Regions from separate parts of the Homo sapiens genome. Here region 2 is linked to region 1. The links are contacts of gene promoters, found by promoter capture Hi-C in blood cells and fetal thymus (Javierre and others, 2016). All regions are on one chromosome and are shown on one strand. The core of a region is centred on a gene start or on the middle of the fragment in contact, and the rest is flanking DNA. Distances in the headings are between cores, read along the strand shown. Region 1 holds the start of STK39 (serine/threonine kinase 39). Region 2 overlaps SPC25 (SPC25 component of NDC80 kinetochore complex).

Region 1 (7,016 bases), core at 2,115-4,614:
TAATCCCAGTACTTTGGGAGGCCGAGGCGGGTGGATCACAAGGTCAGGAGATCGAGACCATCCTGGCTAACACGGTGAAACCCCCGTCTCTCCTAAAAACACAAAAAAATTAGCCAGGCGTGGTGGCGGGTGCCTGTAGTCCCAGCTACTCAGGAGGCTGAGGCAGGAGAATGGCGTGAACCCAGAAGGCAGAGCTTGCAGTGAGCTGAGATCACGCCACTGCACTCCAGCCTGGGTGACACAGCGAGACTCTGTCTCAAAAACAAAAACAAAAAAATAAATAAAAATACAAAAATTAGCTGGGCGTGGTGGTGGGCACCTGTAGTACCAGCTACTTGGGAGGCTGAGGCAAGAGAATCGCTTGAACCTGGGAGGTGGAGGTTGCAGTGAGCTGAGATTGTGCCACTGCACTCCAGCATGGGCAACAAGAGCGAGACTCTGTCTCAAAAAACAAAACAAAACATCGAAGTCCAGATTTGAATCCAGTACTTTCTTTCTTCAAGGCGTTGGCCACTTCACTACACATCCTCTCTTAGATGTTCAAAGGGTTTATGAATAAATAATGGAACTCTACGAAACCTCTTTGTAATACAAATAACCACTGCAATAATCTGTTTATAAAATGAAAATGTATACTTACTTCATCTAAAGCATTATTTACCCTCCAGGGGACATTTGGCAATGTCTGGAGGCATTGTTGATAGTCACAATGTCAGCAGCAGGGTTGCCACTGGCATCTAGTGCATAGAGGCCAGGGTGCCTTTGTCTGCTCTGGCTGGTATGACAAAATACCTTAGACTGGGTAGCTGACAAACAACGGAAATTCATTTTTACAGTTCTGGAGGCTGAAAGTCCAAGATCAAGGTGCCAGCAAATTAGGTATTTACTGAGGGCTTGCCCTCTACTTCATAGCTAATGCCTCTAGCTGCATCCTCATCAAGCTCCTTCCGGCCTCATTTATAAGGGCACTAATCTAACTCAGGAGGGCTCTGTCCTCATGACCCAATCTCCTGCTAAAGGCTCTTAATACTATTCCACTGCCGATTAAGTGTCAACATATGAATTTTGGGGGGACAGAAACATTCAGACCATACCACAGGAGAACAGACCTCTACAACGAAGAGAACTATCTGACACAAAACAGCGCTGAGATTGAGAAACCCTGACACATCATGAGGCAGTTGGATACACTTTAAAAACATTTAGACCCTTATTTTTCCTTTCTATTTTTAACATCGCTCACTGAATGTACTCTTTATGCATTGAAATAAACCTTGTTTATATTTTAAAGGCACCCGCCTCCATCCCCATCTTTCAATTTAAATTTAGTAATGGATTTTCCGGGAAAAGTGCATATCAGTTGAATACTTCTAAAAAACATATATTTCTAAGTTTTAAGTACCATTTTACCCAATTGTTTACAGAAACATTAACTCTAATGCTTTTGTATAATTTTAAAATATTATTCATATTCTGTTCTTCATTTATAAAAATGATGCCAAAGAGCAATGCCAGGGGACATTCTTCTTTAAACCGATTTACTGTAGAAATGATGGATGTGCACTGAGTCATCCACTCAAGCAAGTCTTCATCCTGGTAGCCATTTGGAAAGCGGTTGACTAGAGACCGACATGTAGTCTGTGACTGGGGAACAGTTGCTTTTTGTGGGAGACTAATTGATCTGTGTTTGATTCAATTCTGTGATATTGATCTTGACGGCATCATGTTTTCCTACTAAGTCCCAAGAACATTCCTGGTCTTCATAATCCCACTTCATGGTTTGAAAGTCAAAAATAGAAATTCATATGACAAAATGGAAGTCATATTCATTTGATCATTTTTCTTTTCCTTTAAAAACAGTCCTTAAAAGTTCTTTGGGGTAGGGTGGAGGCAGCACTTGAAGAGGTCAGCAGCCATGGCTTGGTATAAAGAGCTCCCCTGTTCCTCAGAGGCCTAGAATTTGTTTATGAAGGGCTCTGTTTCTTGACAGACATGACAAGACACAGTTTTTGAAGTCCTCCGCATCAAAGAATGTACACTTAGTTCAGCATGAACTTCTGCTTCAAGACCAGAGCGAGGTAGCTGCTTTACTCCAACTTTTGTAATGCTCCAAGAGATTAAGTGCCCTCATCTTCAGTGGACATCAATGTTTTGATTAGACAACTAACTTTCCTAATAAATTTCTGGGCTTCTTCTGAATAATCTTTCAAAAATTTTAGTGAGATTTCTGTACATACACTCGGGAGACAAAATCATGATATCCCTAGAGTTTTTATTACATCCTCATTATTCTTACCTATTTCTTCAGCAGTCCTAGCAATGAGAACCAGACAAGATCATCTTGGCCAAACGACCAATACTATTGGTTTACTGCCCCGTTTCAGTTGGAGACAAGAACGGTGGATCCTGGTCACCTCCACGGAGGGAACACAGAGAACATTCACTGTTAAATATGACACCTATAATTAGGAAAACCTATGGTTTTACCATAGCAGTTTTACAGACGAGGTTATTTTTGGGGTGTTGAAAAAACAGCAATTAAAAGCTTCCAACACAGTTTATTCATGCCCCAATAAATTATTTCCCCACCAAGTATACGCTCTTAAAGAAACGCCTGATGTCTGGCCTCAGTGTCCTCACGGGCTAACGTGGCAATTATTAAGGGTGTAGAATTTGAGCAAACTTTCTAAACCTCTCCTGCATGTCTTATTCTAATTCCACAGCCCCTTAAATCGCCTCCCTGGGATCCAGGCGGCTTGGAAAAAATGAAGTCTGAACAGCCAGAGACCTAAGGAATCAAGTTTCATTTACTAAGAAAAACTAGAAGGACTGCGATTAGATTAGGCAAGGTGGGAAAGGGATACCGGCAAGTAAAGCGCCGGAAACTTACAACTTGGGTTATTTTCTAACTGGCGTCTTGCAAAGGGACACCATGTAGGTATCCCGCTCGTCAACTTGTAAATGAACTTCAGGTTCTCTTTGGTGGCAGGAGAATTCTGAATGTGAGAACCTGGCGGCCGTTCAACGACCCCGCCCTCGGGGTCCCCAGGGGGCGTCCTCCGGCAAGCCTGATCGTCTGGGGCCAAGGCGCAGGGCGAGCAGGGAGGGAGGAGGAGAACCAGGGCCGGTGGCCCCGAAAGCACACACAAAGCGGCCTGACTCCTTTGGTGGGAACTTCCCCGGCCGCCAGCGGAGCGGGAGCGGGAGGGGGCGGCGGAGAGGGGGGGCGGCGGTTCCCCTCGCCGAGGCGGAGAACAGCGCGCGCTAGGCTCTGGGCGCGCGGCGAGCGCAGCGGCCGCCGCCTCCTCCCTTCCCCGCCTCCGCCGGCGCTGCCTCCTCCCTCCGCCCAGCTCGGCCTCCCTTGCTCCCTCCCCTCCTAGCTGGCTTCGGCGGGGACGGCGGCGGCGGCGGCGGGCGGGGAGGGCGTGCGCCGGCCGAGAGGTGTCGGCGGCGAGGCAAAGGAAGTTTCAAGTGGAAGGTCGTCCGTCGGCCGGCGCGTCCTCCTGCTCTCCTCCGCAGCATCATGGCGGAGCCGAGCGGCTCGCCCGTGCACGTCCAGCTTCCCCAGCAGGCGGCCCCGGTGACAGCGGCGGCGGCGGCGGCCCCGGCGGCCGCGACAGCAGCGCCGGCCCCGGCAGCTCCCGCGGCCCCGGCCCCGGCCCCGGCCCCGGCGGCACAGGCTGTCGGCTGGCCCATCTGCAGGGACGCGTACGAGCTGCAGGAGGTTATCGGTCAGTGCGGCGGGCGCGGCGGGGCCGGCACAGGCCGGGCGCCGAGGCCGGGCGGGAGGGGGCGCGGGATGCTGGGCTAGCCTGCATGCACGCCCTGGAGGCAGAGAGGCCGGCTTCGGGGCCTACTGGCTTCAACAGTTTTTTTTTTTTTTTTTTTTTTTTTTTTAATTTTTAATGTATTTGTTCGTTCTATGAGCGTTGGTGCTGCAGGAGGCGGCGCGGCGGATGTGACTCGCACTGCAGACGAGCCGCATGCTGCAAACTTTTATCTCAGGGATCGCCGGGGCGGTGGAGCGGAGGACCAGGCGGCGCCGCCGCATCTTCCTCCCCCCGCGTGCCGGGACCGCAGCCCGTGGCCGGTGGCCACGCGGACAGGCAGCCGCGGGTGGGGTGTGGTTGCGGGGGCCCCGCCCTGGGTTTCCAGGGCCCCGGGGGCCGCGTCCTGGGGGACTCTGCGGGCGCAGCCGCTCCTCTGCCTCCCGTCGTGACCCTCTCGTCGTGGGTAACGGGGCCACGTAGAAGCCGCGGAGGCCCCAGTGCTTTTCTGAGGCCGGGGAGGATGCTGGCCTCTCTTCCTGACAGCCGCCACTCCACGCCCGCCTTGCAGCCCGGCTCTCCGCGCCACTCGGCGCGCCCGGGTACCCGCCTCCCTCCGTGCCAGGGTGCGCCGCCTGCCGCCCAGTCCGGCTCCCCGGGGAAAGCGGGTGCCCTGGCCTCCTGCCCTGCACCGGGCCGATGCTTCCCTCTGTTTCAGGCCGAGCTGCAAGAGTGAAATCCGAGGCTGCCGGTGATCTGCTCTCTGCCTTTCGTTGCCTTCTGGCCGGCTCACAAATATCACCTTATCTTACATTTTTAAATACCTGGCAGAGTCGCAGGGCTCGGCGTTACTTTTCCTTGGGCCAAGCACTTGAAGGGCCAGGAGATTTGTTTTGTCCCTTGACTTAGAACCTTCCCTATTGGATCATCCAGTTTGAGAGTCTTGTCACTTAGGGAAGCCTCCAGGTTAAGTGGGCCCTCAGCGTCTAACCTTACTGACGCAGGGATGGGATGTTGCCTTTCCAGAATCTTGGTATATAAGTACAGCGATGAAAAAGGAGTTCAGAATATTTATCTTAAGTATTTTTTCTAACTTTCACTTCAAAAAATTCTTCACCTCCTTTTAAAAAAATTAAAACAGATATAAAAATTTCACTAGGTGTTTAAATGAGCCTTTATCACCTGCTATTGGGGAATAAAACAGCATAGACGGAAATATATATATAAATATATACATAAAAATATGTGAGAAAATGTTGGGCAGGTCCGTAACCTAGGATATATACAAGCTTCAGATAACCTATAATAGGCATCTGTAGACAAAATTCTTTGAAAACCCAGATCTTTCATAATTTTTGACCAAAGACTCTAAAGGGATGAGTCTTCATGTCACTGCCTGAAATAGCTTCAGGGGCTTCTCAAAGCCTGGAATATTCCATGGAAACCTCTTTAACCTGGCATATAGGCCCTGTACCCTCAACCTGCCTGCCTCCTCCCATTGTCTACTCTTCAGTGATTGCTTCCTGAATACACCGCTGTCTTCCGCACATCTGGTCTTCCATTCTTTGCTGCCTTGCAGAGGCTCTTCCCTCCTGTGAGTGCCCATCTTTGTGTACTAAATCTCACTCCGCTTCCAAGGTGAGTGTGAATATTCCTTGAAAAGCCTTCTGCTTCTTTCAAGGCAAAATGCCGTGGTTTCTTCTGCCCCTCTTTTTACAGACCTCATAGCATGTAACCTCATAGTTGTTATTTGCGCAACAAGATCTGAAGGCCTGCTGTGTCCCAAGCATTGCCCCACTTGCTAGCAATATAGAAATTAACAAAAGTGATCCCTGCCCTAAGTTGTTAGGAGACATAGGGAAAGGATCCTATAGGATGTGATGAGTAAGTACTGGGAGAGCCCGAAGGAGGGAGTGACTGCCAGGAAAGAGAAGGAAGCAGAGTATTTCTTAGTAGAGGTCGTAGTTGAGCTGGGTTTTAAGTCTGAGTTTGTAAGGTGCTTAATTATTTCCACTGTTGCCTTCACTAACCAGCTGTGAACTCTGACAGGAAGAGGTGGGCCATAAAAGTTGAATAATGGTATCTGCCACATAATTCTCCATAGAGTCCATAGGATTGGGAGAAGTTATAATCAATTTATATACCTACTTGGTCAATTATTAGGGTTAAAATACAAACGTTGCCTTTTGAAAACAGTATTTTTTTGTGAACTAATAAAATCTTAGTTTAAGTTGAGTGGGATTAATGGCAGGACTTCTTTCTGTTTGCAGTCCCAGCAGTGTTAATTATGGTTGGTCAGTTTAGTGGAAAAAAAGAAATTTACCTGAGGAATTTGAGAACAAAAACACCTGCTTATTCTACCCTGACTTTTGCGCATTTGCATTGTGGGAAGGGCTTTTCTACATTTAAAGTTTATCTCATATTTTCCCAACTAAAAGAGAAAGAGTTGGCCTGTGTGGAGGCCCTGTTATTGAAAAATCAAATTGCTGGAATAGGTTTTTCGCAAGGGCTTAATGTTTATAAGGAATTACAAACCTGTTTCCATTTAGGGTTTAATGCTAGTTGAGAGATTAAGACTGAACTTGTGGTTAAGCACTTTTGCTTAAACATTACACGCAGAAGTTAGCAGTTCAAACACTGAACCAGTTTCAACATGAATGCCAGTTGACAGCCTTTGCTTCTACCCGCCATACGGCAGGTGTCATATGATATGACTCCAGCAGTGTGAACCGTGACCAGCAGCAGGAGGCTCAGATGTGCCTGAACAGAAAACCAAAGGAGGCACCGTGTTTTAACTTTCCAGCATGGCACGGGCACGGAGGACTTTTTCTTCATTTCCTTCTGGGCAGAGTTTGGTCCCCCAGGATTAAGAGAGAATAAGTTTACTAAAATCCAAACAAAGCAGGTTCAGTTGTTTGACTTCAGTTTTAGAAAAATAAACACAGGATTTTGCAAACCTAAAAATAAAGTTTTCTCTTTATTGTATTGTTGTTCTTGTGTTTTAAAACGTCAGTGGAGAAATTGTAATGCTCTTAGGAGTATTCTGGTTCATAAGTTTATTCATGACCTGGAAATGATGTAAAATCGATGGGAGGGAGCTTTATATTTACAGAGGGGTTAAAAATGTTGGAAATTATTAAATTCCTTCTTCCAGACATTGATATCCTTGTCTTAGTAGATTTCAAATATTTCTGTCTTTTTGGAGGCTTTCCGACCTGTTTATACTCTTCAGCCTTGTTAATCTTTGTT
Region 2 (7,016 bases), core at 1,485-3,984, 630 kb before region 1:
CAAAAGTGCTAATTCAGTGAACACACGAATGATAAGAAAGAGAAACAGCCTTATTGTTAGAGAAAATTTTAGTGGCCTTAATAGAAGAGCAAACAAACCACAACATTCCCTTAAGCAAAAGCCTAATTCAGGGTAAGACTCTAGCCCTCTTCAATTCTGTGAAGGCTTGAGAAAGATGAGGAAGTTTCAGAAGAAAAGTTTGAAGCTAGCAGAAGTTGGTTCTTGAGGTTTAAGGAAAGCAGCTGCCTCCATAAAATAAAAATGCAAGATGAAGCAGAAGTGCTAATGTAGAAGCTACAGCAAGTTATCTAGCTAAGATCATTGAATGAACAGATCATTAAAGAACGGATTTTTGATGTAGATGAAAAAGCAGTTTTCTATTGGAAGAAGATGCCATCTAGGACTTTCATAGCTAGAGAGAAGTCAAGGCCTGCTTTGAAGCTTCAAAGACAGGCTGACTCTTTAGTGACTAATGCACCTGGTGACTTTAAGTTGAAGCCTGTGCTCACTTGCCATTCCCCAAATCCTAGGGCCCTTAAGAATTATACTAAATCTACTCTGCCTATGTTCTATAAATGGAATAGCAAAGCCTAGATGACAGCACATGTGTGTATAGCATAGTTTACTGAATATTTTAGGCCCACTGTTGAGGCCTTCTACTCAGGAAAAAAGATGGCTTTCAAAATATTTCTGCTCATTAACAGTGCATCTGGTCACTCAAGAGCGCTGATGGAGATTAGTGTTGTTTTCATGCCTACTAAGACAACATCCATTCTGCAGCCCATGGATCAAGGGGTAGTTTTGACTTTCATGTCTCATTATTTAAGAAATAAGGTTATAGCTACCCAAATAGTGATTAACTCTGATAGATCTGGGCAAAATAAATTGAAAACCTTCCAGAGAAAGGATTCACCATTCTAGATGCCATAGAACATTCGTGATTCACAGGAAGAGGTCAAAATATCAACATGAACAAGAGCTTGGAAGAAGTTGATTTTAACCCTCATGGATGACTTTGAGAGGTTCAAGACTTCAATGGAGAAAGTAACTACAGATGTGGTAGAAATCACAAGAGACCTAGATTTAGAAGTGGAGCCTGAAGATGTGACCGAATTGCTGCCATCTCAGATAAAACTTGAATGGATAAGGAGTTGCTTCTTATGGATAAGCAAAGAAAGTGGTTTTATGGAATGGAATCCACTCCTGGTGAAGATGCTGTGAACATTGTTTAACTGACAACAAAGGATTTAGACTATTATATAAACTTAGTTGATAAAGTAGCGCAGGGTTTGAGAAGACTGACTCCAATTTTGAAAACAGTTCTACCAGGGGTAAATGCTGTCAAACATCATTGTATGCTGCAGAGAAATCTTTCATGAAAGAGTTGATTAATGCAGCAAACTTTATTGTTGTCCTATTATAATAAATTGCCACAGCCACCCCAACCTTCAGCAGCTACCACTCTGATCAGTCAGCAGCCATCAACATCAAGGCAAGACCCTCCCCCTGCAAAAGTTTAGGACTTGCTGAAGGCTCAGATGATTATTAGCATATTTTAGCAATAAAATATTTTTAATTAAGATATGTACATTTGTTTTTTAGCCATAATGCTATTGCACGCTTAATAGACTACAATATAGTGTAAAATAACTTTTCTATGTACTGGGAAACCAAAACATTTGTGTGACTTGCTTTATGGCAATATTCGCTTTATCACAGTGATCTGGAATAGAACTTGCAATATCTCCAACGTATGCCAGTACTTAAAAATAGCACAGAATAGCAAAAACTAATAAAACCAATAAAAACAAAGAACAAAAACGAATATTGCAGCTATTAATATTAGTATAAACATCTATTCTTACCTATGTATTAATCACTGGTGTTATGTACAAAAACTATTGATTTTTTTGGGGTGTAGTACCACAAATTCTGATAGGTTTTCAGTAGATTTTTCTGAGTATTCTAGATAGATGTCTATTGTCTACATATAATGAAAAATAGTTCTTGTTTTTTCCTTATAGTTTTACCAGCTAAATATCTTGTCTTGGCCAGAAACTTCTAGGGAAATATTAAATAACAGTGCTAACTGGCATCTATTTTATTCCTTTTGGAAATGCCAAATATATATGATGAGATTTGAAAGGTTTTTGATTTGTTTCTATCATGTTAAATGTCCTTCCATTTATAGTTAAGAATAGTCAGGAGTGGATGCTGAATTCATATGAAATGTCTCTTCAATTCTTATTCATGTGATGGATTTTCCTAATATTACACCTTCACTATGTAAAATCCTTGGTATAAACTATATTTGCTCTTAGTGGATTATTTTTAATGTAACTTAATATTTTATTGAGCATCTTTGCACCTATGTTTTTAAGTGAGATTAGTTTATATAGTTGTGGGCAGAGGGCCAGTGCTATCTTTAATTTTTTGTTTTAGCTTTAGAATTATGCTTACATTGTAAGCTTTGCCTGCCCACCTGTCTTCCTTCACTTATTTCTGTCTTTTGGTATGTTCCGGAATAATTTATATAGCATTAGAGTGAGGCTTTTCCTCAAAGCACTGTTTAAAACCATCTTCTAGAGTTTGGTTGTTGGCCAGGCGTGGTGGCTTGCACTGGTAATCCCAGCACTTTGAGAGGCTGAGGTAGGAGGATTGCTTGAGCCTAAGAGTTTGAGACTAGCCTGGGCAACATAGTGAGACAAAAAAATTTAAAAATCAGCCAGGCGTGATGTGGTGTGTGCCTGTAGTCCCAGGTACTAGGGATGCTAAGGTGGGAGGCTGCAATGAGTAGTGATTGTGCCACTGTATTCCAGCCTGGGCAACAGTGAGACCCTGTTTCAAAAAAATATAAAAATAAAATAAATAATAGAGTTTAGTTATCTTTGTTGGTAGTTTTTATTTCTGTGCTTATTTGGAGTGGGGAGCTGCAAGGGTCATGATCTTTTGATTTTCTGTTTCTTGATTTAATTTGGTATTCTCATTTTAAGAAGCTTTTCTGTCTCATTTTTTTTAAAGATGAGTAAGTAGGAAAGAATAGATTAGGTTTTTTTTCTTTTTTGTCTTTTATAATTTTGAATCATTAGAAAATGCTTATCAGTCAAAACATTCTTTATTAATCTTTATGAAAGTCAGTAAACTTTGGCCTTTTCTTAGATACATGTCAGAGAGCCAAGCATATTCTAGCTAATACCTTGTGCTTCTTACAGAGATCAGCAGGCAAAATAAGCTCATTCAAGAAAAAAAGGATAACTTGTTAAAATTGATTGCTGAAGTAAAAGGCAAAAAGCAGGAATTGGAAGTACTGACTGCAAATATCCAGGATCTTAAGGAAGAATATTCTAGGAAGAAGGAAAGTAAGTTTCCTCTTATAAACATACTGATCTAAAATGGAAAGTGGTGACGGTTCACCTTTATTAAGTACATCTTGCCTGTTCCAGTTCATTGCTAAAAATGGATTACAGTACCCCAGGGCATAACCAGCCACTCATCTCTGCAAGATGTCATTAAAGTTAACTAACTGGGTTTTATTTTCTTTTGTCTTACTTAAAGGGCCTTCTCTTGTTATTTTTAATATAATCAGTAATAATGAAATTGATAGGAGGTTTTAATTAAGCAGAGTGAGAAATGGTGTCCCTAAATAAAATTTGCTTTGGACAAGCCATAGTGTACTTTATGCAACAAATATTTATTGACCATACATTCTCTGCCAGGTAATGTTAAGCGTTCTTTTTATGCTGCAAAATCTCTTATGTATAAAGAACTTTCATATTCAAATGAATGCATCTTTTAGAAAGGAGCCTTGTTTGCTCACAAACTAGGTAGTCTATTCTTCAAATCTGAAAATAGCAAAGTTTGTTTTGTAAATGCTTTTTCTTGTGGAGTTCTTATCCAAGTCTAAATTGTGAAATTATTTTTCTCATTACTTAGGGACTATTGTGCTACTTTAAAGTATATTTAGGGACTATTGTGCTAACTTAAAAAAAAAAAAAAGAAAAAACTAAACTAGCATGAAATAAGGCTGACCTCTCATAAGAAATAGTTATGTTAAAGGAAGAGAACATTTTCCCATGAAGCAATTGGTTATCTAGAAAAAAAGCACAGTAGTATAAATGAAGTCTATTTCTATGCCAGCCATACAAATCCCTGGCCTATTTACTTATGCTACTACATAATAAAGTAAGACAAGGCTTATTCTTCTCACTATCTGTATACATTTTCCTGAGCAGTTTTTCCTTCCAACTTGAATGAACAGAAGCTTCTTTTAGCCAACTGGTAGATATAGAAACAATAAATGGAAGCAGATTTATAGGCTTGGCATCATTTTATAGTTGATTTTAAGTTTAAAAAATTAACTCAGTGAGCATTAATTTGCTATTATTTAAAACATTTAATATTGTGTGTGTTTTTTAATCAGCTATTTCTACTGCTAATAAAGCGAATGCAGAGAGGTTGAAAAGGCTGCAGAAATCTGCAGACTTGTATAAAGATCGACTTGGACTAGAAATTCGAAAAATTTATGGTAAGTTTGTTAATATAAATAAAATATAGGAGATTACAAAAGTATGTCTTTTCTTAAGTAGAGGAAAATTTTAAAAATATTTTCAACTAAAATAATGACCACATTAACTTTTTAGAAAATAGGAAAAAATTACAATTTTTAAATTATTCTAATGTAGCTACTGATGCTGTAGTTATTTATCATTCGGTATTTTAATAAATGTATTTTTGGCATGATTGTCAACATGCAAATAATTTTTGTTCTTCCTATCAGCATTGTATTCTGAGCATTTCCTCAGTTGCTATAGTCTTCATAATGGTAATTTTTAAGTAGTGATGTAATAATTCATTCTATTAATATAGCATAATTTATTCAACCATTTACCTATTGTTTAGCACATATTTTGCTTCTACCAACATTTGGATTCTGCCATTTTTTTCAGTTTTAGAAATACAGTCATCCCCACTTATTCACGGTTTCTGTTACCCATGTTCAACCGTGGTCTGATGATATTAAATGGATGAGTATGGTACAATAAGATATTGTGAGAGGGAGAGAAGCTACATTAATATAACTTTTATTACAGTACGTTGTTGTAATTGTTCTGTTTTATTATTAGTTGTTGTTAATCTCTTTCTGTGCCTAATTTACAACATAAACTTTATCATAGGTATGAATGTATAGGAAAATACATAGTATGGACAGTCCCTGACTTATGATAGTTCAACTTACAATTTTTTGACTTTATAATCAGTTTATCAGGGTGTTAAATGCATTTTTGCCTTACAATGTTTTTGACTTTTGATGTGTTTATTGGCACATAATGCCATTGTAAGTCAAGGAGCATCTGTTTACATAGTGTTTGCTACTATCTACGGTTTCAGGCATCTGTTGGGGTCTTGGAACATATTTCTCCCTGGTGGATAAAGGGGGACTATTGTAAACCAGTGAGCATAGACTTTCCCATTTTCTTTGCATGGTTTTTCATAGAATTGTTTCCCAGAGAGGAATTAGTAGGCTAAAACACATGAATATTTTGATGCCTGTTGCATGTATATCACATGTACATCGCTAATGTATGGCAATGTCTGTTGTGTCTGGGCTTCCCAAGATCACTCTCAGGTTTGGTGATTCACTAGAAGGAATTAGCATATAGTCATATTCATAGCTAAGATTTACTGCAGCAAAAGGATACAGAACAGAATCAGCAAAGAAACAATAGCACGTGGGGCAAAGTCTACAGGAAACCTGGCACAAGCTTTCAAGAGTGCTAACCCAGTAGAGTCAAACAGGATGTGCTAATTCCTTCAGCATCAAATTGTGACAACACACGTGAAGTGTTGTCTACCAGGAAGCTCATTAGAGGTTCTGGACGCTTATGCCTGGTTCTCCTTGGACTTTACTCCATGTACCTTTTCCCTTTGCTGATTTCGCTATATCCTTTTGCTGTAATAAATCATAGCCCTGAGTATGGCCATATGCTGCTGAGTGAATCCTATGAGTTCTCCTAGTGAATCATAAAAAAGACCACAGCAGCCAAGTTCATTCCATTTTATGGCTGAACAATGTTCCATTGTATGTGTGTACTATATCCATTCATCTGTTGGTGGGCACTGGGTTATTTCCACTTTTTGGCTACTATGAATAATGCTGCTATGAACATTGGCATACAGTTATCTACTTGAGTCTCCGTTTTCAATTCTTTCAGCTCTATACTTAGGAGTGGAATTGCTGGGTCATATTGTAATTCTGTATTTAAACTTTTTGAGGATCTGCCAAACTGTTTTTCACAGTGGCTGTACCATTTTACATTTCTACCAGCAATGTGCTAGGGTTCCAGTTTCTCCACATCCTCACCAACACTGTTATTTTCCATTTATTTATTTGCCATCCTACTGGGTATGAAATGGTATCTCATTGTAGTTTCGGCTTGCATTTACATAATGACTAATGATGTTGAGCATCTTTTTGTGGACTTAATGGCCATTTTTATATATTCTTTGGAGAAATGTCCTTTCAGATTTTTTGCCCATTATTGAATTGGGTGGTTTTTAGTTGCAGGAGTTCTAAATACATTCTATGTATTCAACCTTTATCAGATAAATGATTGCAAATATTTTCTCCCATTCTTTAGGTTGTCTTTTCCTTCTCTTGATAGTGTTCTTTGAAGGACAAAAGTTTTTAATTTTAACAAAGTCCAATTTATCTAGTTTTTCTTTTGTTGACTGTATTTTTGATGTCATATTGAAACTATAATATATTTTAAAACGAATTTGTAACTTCTGCATTTGGAAATGTTGGTTACATGACTGTATATACTTAGCAGTGCAGATATTGATCAAAGATGGAGTAAGAAAGGGTATCTCCATTGAAAGCTTTGACACACTAAATAGTTTAATCTCTTTTCAGGTGAGAAATTGCAGTTTATTTTCACTAATATTGACCCTAAGAATCCTGAGAGCCCATTTATGTTTTCCTTACATCTCAATGAAGCAAGGGACTATGAAGGTAT

Evidence for each region. Contacts are between HindIII fragments. The CHiCAGO score rates a contact against its expected background, and 5 or more counts as called.
Region 2: a fragment that was not itself captured here is called in contact with the fragment with the promoter of STK39 in region 1 in 1 of 17 cell types (total CD4 T cells); the score reaches 6.0 in total CD4 T cells.

Annotation. Positions count from the first base shown.
Region 1 is chr2:168,243,943-168,250,958 of GRCh38, reverse strand. It overlaps STK39 (serine/threonine kinase 39), which reads left to right and starts at 3,364. Exons shown (of 18, transcript NM_013233.3): 1 at 3,364-3,731. The coding sequence starts at 3,524. LOC107985959 (a long non-coding RNA gene) reads right to left here and starts at 2,998. Exons shown (of 5, transcript XR_007087282.1): 1 at 2,891-2,998. RefSeq lists silencers at 3,159-3,408, 3,619-3,668, 4,029-4,078, 4,169-4,258, 4,279-4,478. The HindIII fragment of the contact is 2,511 bases long and covers 2,548-5,058 here.
Region 2 is chr2:168,873,581-168,880,596 of GRCh38, reverse strand. It overlaps SPC25 (SPC25 component of NDC80 kinetochore complex), which reads left to right. Exons shown (of 7, transcript NM_020675.4): 4 at 3,213-3,359; 5 at 4,421-4,525; 6 at 6,914-7,012. Among named protein-coding and RNA genes, the nearest start is that of SPC25, 13 kb to the left of the region's middle. The HindIII fragment of the contact is 528 bases long and covers 2,471-2,998 here.